Linked DNA regions of Homo sapiens: region 1 is linked to region 2. The links are contacts of gene promoters, found by promoter capture Hi-C in blood cells and fetal thymus (Javierre and others, 2016). All regions are on one chromosome and are shown on one strand. Each heading gives the region's core, a stretch centred on a gene start or on the middle of the fragment in contact. The rest is flanking DNA. Distances are from core to core; before and after follow the strand shown. Region 1 has its middle 3.1 kb from the start of DMTF1. Region 2 holds the start of RSBN1L (round spermatid basic protein 1 like).

Region 1 (2,993 bases), core at 269-2,768, 9.5 Mb after region 2:
TTTCACTGGGACCTGTCCCATCCACCAAGGAATTTGTCTGCCTCCTACTGCTATCAATTTGATTCATATTTTGTTTTCTTCCCTCATTGTTAATTATAAGCAAGTTTTACAGGCAGTTGCCAGTAATTTAGTGAGTACTTTACCCAAAAAAGTTTGGCACAAAGATGCACTTATACTACTATAATGTAAGCTCCTCCATTAGAATATATGTTCCTTGAGAGCAGGGTTGTCTCTCTTGTTCTCCATCATATTTCCTGTGCCTAAAATAGTGCTCAGCCCAAAGGAGGTGCTCAGGAAGAGCTGCTGAATGAAATGACCGAGTGTATCACAAATGTGCAAACTCCTGAAAGTTATAAACATTATCGTAGTTCCTTGTTTCTTCCTGTTTCACTGCATATTCTGTGCAAAGGAATTAAATGTACAGTGAATAGAAGGGAAGGGGATTAATCCAGAAGTCTTTTAATTCTAGAGAGCTTTCTCATATTTTGATTTCAAAGCAGAATCCTTATCCCTTTAGCTTTATTACTGTTGAGGCTTGTCCTTGGTCTGCCACAGCATATCATTAGCAATGAAGGCCCCAAAATTTCTATCTACTGTTGAAGTTACTACTTGGGAAAGAAAAAACAAAAACAAAAACAAAAAAAAACTCCTGCTGAACAATAGGGACATCTGCTGGCTAAAATGACAAGCTTCTATTCTTAAAATACTGCATCTAGATGCACAAGACTTGGGCAATAAGGTTTAGAGTAACACCAAATATGTGATGTGTTAAAATAACTTCTTTCCACTTGAAAAATAGGTAACATGTGTTTGTTTTAGTCCAGAATTGTCCAAGTAGCAACACTATCTGGAAAAATACTGTGTGATCGCCAGTAGTCAGCTGTTCTTGCCAAAGAATAGAAATGGCTAGCTTCCAAGTCTTCTGGCTTAAGATAATTATCTTTAATATCAACAAACATTTAAATGTCTGCTAAGTTAAGGTATTGTGCCATATATTAGCAAATCAAAGCTCATGGCAAAGGGGTAAGATGGCCCATTTCTGCTATGTCTGGGCATGCACTGAGCTCTAGTCTCAGAGGAATAGGAATACTATTCAGTCTTAAAAAAGAAGAAAATTCTGCAATATGCAACAACATGGATGAACCTTGAGGACATTATACTAAGTGAAATAAACCAGTCACAGAAATACAAATACTACATGATTTCACTTATGTTAAGTATCTAAAATAGACGAATTTTTAGAATCAGAGTGGAATGGTGGTTTACCAGGGGCTGGGGAGAGGGGATGGGGAGTTAGTAATCAGCGGGCATAAAGTTTCAAGTAAGATGAATAAGCTCTAGAGATCTGCTGTACAACATTGTACCCATAGTCAATGATAATGTTTTATATACTTAAAATTTTATTGAGGGCAGATGTCATGTTGTGTTCTTACCACAATAAAGTTTTTTGAGAAATTCAGCTAACATTTGCAAGGGACAGCCTATCACCTGGCAGTGCTCTGCTTTCACCATTTTATAAACATTTTACAAGCCAGTTGCTTTCTGCAAATATGCTTTCATGCACTAGCTTGACAAATGCTTTCCCACCTTGCACCCCCTACTATGCTTCTTTATTCTTACCTTTCTGCTTAAGTATCTTCTCAGAAAGGCCTACTCTGAACTCTCTATGTAAAAGTTCACTTTCAGAGCACCCAAGTTGTATCTTTCTCAGAACTTACAAAACATGGCAATTATTGCTTAGTTAACTAATACATTGTCCCTCTCTCTTCCATGCTAGATTATAAAGGAACAGGTCTTTGAGTCTGGGTCTGGATATTATCCTGTTTTAGTGAAGTATCTGAACTGTTTTGTTTTGCACACCAAAATTACAAAGACAGAACAAAAATTTTTATCCTTATTGGCTAGGAGTATTGGACGCCTTAGCTCTCCATTCCCTTGATAAGGAAACACTTTTCTGGCTAATATTCTATCAATAGGTCTCAACAAAGATTTACCACAAAAGAAGAAAAAAGTGAAGTGGATATAGAGAGGTTGTCACCAGGCTGAGGTATTAAAAGGATTGCAGAGATGAGACACATAGGCAAAATGCAAGGCGGGAAAAGGATTGTAAGATGGAGTGTCATAAGGCCCAGAGGGAAGCCTACAGGAAGAATCTGAGACAGGAGACCACCTGGTAAAGCCTGGTGTGTGGGCATAACTGGGACAGTTTATTCATTCCTCCATTAGCACAGCAATCTCCATCAGCTGGAAGGCCCTACAGTGTATACCCATCAGCTATATTAACAGGACTCAGAGCCTGTGTAGAAAGAAAATTACTCAGTAATTGTAATTTTCTTTTACTTTGAACAAAAGCTTATAAACATCTTTTTTTTTTCTGAATTAGCAAAAGATGATCATGAAACAACAGAACCTGCTTCTCAGTATTTGAAATACTTTATATTAATATATCAACCTGTCATAAAAGGCAATTTCATCATCAATCACTGATGAGGTTCACAAAAGTGTTATAGACACCTGGAGTCCAACAAAGTCAATTTTAACTAGCAAATGCAGTAAATACCATAGCTAAGCTATAAATACTTTAATAATTATTGTTTAGGATAGAAATACTTCTAATGATTTTTCTACAAAACATTTAATTCCTAAATAGGTAAATCCTTGGATAATATTTAAAACCTCATCCATTCCCTAGGTACACATTGACTAAATAATGAGGTACGGATAACATAGAAGTATAACTGCAGAAAATTGCTCTAGGAATCAAGTTGTGTTATGGATAGTCTTTACATTGATTATTCAAGCTAAAGGGATAGAGACGTTATTATATTTTTTTAAATTATGCATTAAGCTAATATTAAAATACATTTGTCATCCCCAAATAAATACCAATTGACTTGGGAAAAGGTAGTTATAAAAGAAACTCAACCAGAAAGGGAGAATTTAGTTATGAGGATGCACTTGACTTTTTGCGGGGAGTTAGCAGCGTGCAGGCT
Region 2 (2,857 bases), core at 195-2,694:
GAAACCTAAAAAAACAATTCTTGCTTTTCAAACATCCATAAATAATCGCCAACGAATTTTTCCTGGCAAGTCTACGTTATAATAATAATAATATTATTATTATTATTATTATTTTTTGAGACGGAGTCTTGCCCTGTCGCCCAAGCTGGAGTGCAGTGGCGCAGTCTCGGCTCACTGCAACCTCCGCCTCCTGGGTTCAAGCGATTCTCCTGCCCCAGCCTCCCCAGTAGCTGGGATTACAGGTGCGCGCTTCCATGCCCAGCTAATTTTTGCATTTTTAGTAGAGACGGGGTTTCACCATGTTGGTCAGGCTGGTCTCGAACTTCTGACCTCGTGATCCGCCCGCCCCGGTCTCCCAAAGTGCTGGGATTACAGGTGTGAGCCACCGCGCCCGGCTATAATAATTATTATAAAATTCAAATCTTAAGGCCGCACATGGTGGCTCACGCCTGTAATCCCAGCACTTTGGGAAGCGGAGGTGGGCCGCTCACCTGAGATCAGGAGTTCGAGTCCAGCCTGGCCAACATGGTGAAACCCCGTCTCTAATAAACACAAAAATTAGCCAAGCATGGTGCCGGACGCCTGTAGTCCCTGTTACTGGGGAGGCTGAGGCAGGAGAATCGCTTGAATCTGGGAGGCGGAGGTTGCGGTGAGCCGAGATCGCGCCACGGCACTCCAGCCTCGACAACAGAGCAAAACTCCGTCCCAATAAATAAATAAATAAATAAAATAAAAATCTTAAGGGTCTAGTCACAACAGTTCAAAAGTCTCCAAAGGGAGACTCTCACCTTCAAGCTTGTAAGTAATACTAAAGTTCTAGATTTGCTGGAAGTTATCTCCTTCAATGGATTACAGCACATGATCTAGCAATAATAACGTACCTTGTCACCACATCGAATGATTTTGAACACTTCCCATCAATCGACTACCGACTAACAAAAAGAAGGACTTGATTCCCGGCAATTTTTTCTCTTCTGAACTGAGCATTCCCGAAATCCAGCTTGCTGAACGCGCAGATGCAGGGTGAGAGGCACCCCAGGAAAAATGGAAGGGAAAGTGGTACAAGTTAAAACAGTCTTCGTGGCCGCAGAGACGATCGCTACCTCGGCCATGGCAGATCTGGGGGTCCGGGGCGGGGGTTCTTCCCTGATACCCACCGGGCACGCGAGTTCACGCCAGCGACAGTGGAAAGCCCTCCCCTCGCAGCGCGCTCCGCCACTAGCCGCACCCCGCCGAGCTCTGACCTCCGAAGAGGGTCCCTGTGGCGATCCCGCCCCTTCGTCTGATGTTTGTGCCTTTGATTGGCTCTTAGGTGGATCCCTCAGCGTGGCTTGCCCAATGGAGCAATGCCGGCTGGTGGCCTGGCCGCTCCGCCCCTTCCCTACCCCTCGCGGAGGGCCCGCCCCCTGCCCCGCGCCGGCTAGCGGAGGAGAGTAAATACAACAGGAGCGCAAAATGGCGGAACCGCCGAGCCCCGTGCACTGTGTCGCTGCCGCGGCCCCCACCGCCACCGTCTCGGAGAAAGAACCGTTTGGCAAGCTGCAACTCTCCTCCCGGGACCCTCCGGGTTCTCTGTCCGCCAAGAAGGTCCGGACTGAGGAGAAGAAGGCACCGCGGAGAGTGAACGGAGAAGGGGGCAGCGGCGGGAACAGCAGGCAGCTGCAGCCGCCGGCAGCACCTTCGCCTCAGAGCTATGGCAGCCCCGCGTCTTGGAGCTTTGCCCCTCTGTCTGCTGCTCCCTCCCCGTCCTCTTCTCGGAGCAGTTTCTCTTTCTCCGCTGGCACGGCCGTTCCCTCCTCAGCCTCCGCTTCCTTGTCTCAGCCGGTGCCGCGCAAACTGCTGGTCCCTCCTACGCTGCTGCACGCTCAGCCTCACCATCTCCTCCTGCCCGCCGCCGCCGCCGCTGCCTCGGCTAACGCCAAGTCGCGCAGACCTAAGGAGAAGCGGGAGAAGGAGAGGAGGAGGCACGGTCTCGGTGGGGCCCGAGAGGCCGGCGGGGCCTCCCGGGAGGAGAACGGGGAGGTGAAGCCGCTGCCCCGAGGTGGGTGCCGTGCGGGGAGGGGGAGGGGAGGGCGCCGTGGGTCCCCGCCGCCCCCTGGCGCCCACGGGGCCCGGGAAGGGGGAGCGCGGCGGCCGCGTGCGCCGGCCTGGAGGGGCTGGGAGGCGTCCGGTTTTCAGCAGAGGATTTTGCAGTTCCCAAGGGGACAGGAAATGGAGCCTGTAATTTCGGTTGCAGAGAGGGGGATGGCCGACACTCTTATTTTCTGTATCGTTTCTTCCTCCCAGTTAGTGCGCTGCAGGATTTGTGAAAATCCATCTTGAGGACTCTCCTAGGTTTGTTTGGCTAGGGAGAGAGATGGAGGGAACGGGATGGGGGAAGGGTTTGGTTTTGTAAAAGATGCTTGATTGATTGTTAGACCACTTAGACGTGGTCGCGGGAATTCGTATTTGTGACACAGCGTTCAACCCCGGATAATCCTGTCAAAAAAGGGGTGTGGAGAGAGCACTGGCGTCAGCTGGAAGCTACCAGAGGCCTGAGCTTTTCATCCCTATTAGGGAAATGAGGTAGCGTGCAGGGCCCGAAGTGCGCTGTTTCGTAAGGTACCCTCCCTGCACCCTACTCTCCGCTGCGTATTCTTAAGTGTTTTGGGTGGTCCTGTTTGAAATACCACCCTTCTGAAAGAATTTTCAGCCATATTCTTTTTTTCCCTGCAGCAAATGATAAAACCAGGAGCTTTGACGATTTTTCGCCAGATCAAGCGGCTGCAGAATGTTTGAGCATTAGAAAAAGGCGAATTCTTAAGGGTTCTTGTCAGACAGGGTCAGTTTTGTTTTTAAATGTAGGCTAGTCGTATAA

The links. The method cuts DNA at HindIII sites, captures the fragments that hold promoters and counts their contacts. A CHiCAGO score of 5 or more calls a contact.
Region 1: a fragment that was not itself captured here is called in contact with the fragment with the promoter of RSBN1L in region 2 in 1 of 17 cell types (fetal thymus); the score reaches 5.9 in fetal thymus.

The regions. Positions count from the first base shown.
Region 1 is chr7:87,147,885-87,150,877 of GRCh38, forward strand. No RefSeq gene overlaps it. Among named protein-coding and RNA genes, the nearest start is that of DMTF1, 3.1 kb to the right of the region's middle. The HindIII fragment of the contact is 1,663 bases long and covers 688-2,350 here.
Region 2 is chr7:77,695,015-77,697,871 of GRCh38, forward strand. RSBN1L (round spermatid basic protein 1 like) reads left to right here and starts at 1,445. Exons shown (of 8, transcript NM_198467.3): 1 at 1,445-2,041. The coding sequence starts at 1,456. It overlaps APTR (Alu-mediated CDKN1A/p21 transcriptional regulator), which reads right to left and starts at 1,251. Exons shown (of 2, transcript NR_134254.1): 1 at 882-1,251. RefSeq lists enhancers at 540-1,435, 1,436-2,331, 1,516-1,745 and silencers at 1,266-1,485, 1,956-2,275, 2,566-2,665. The HindIII fragment of the contact is 2,163 bases long and covers 794-2,857 here.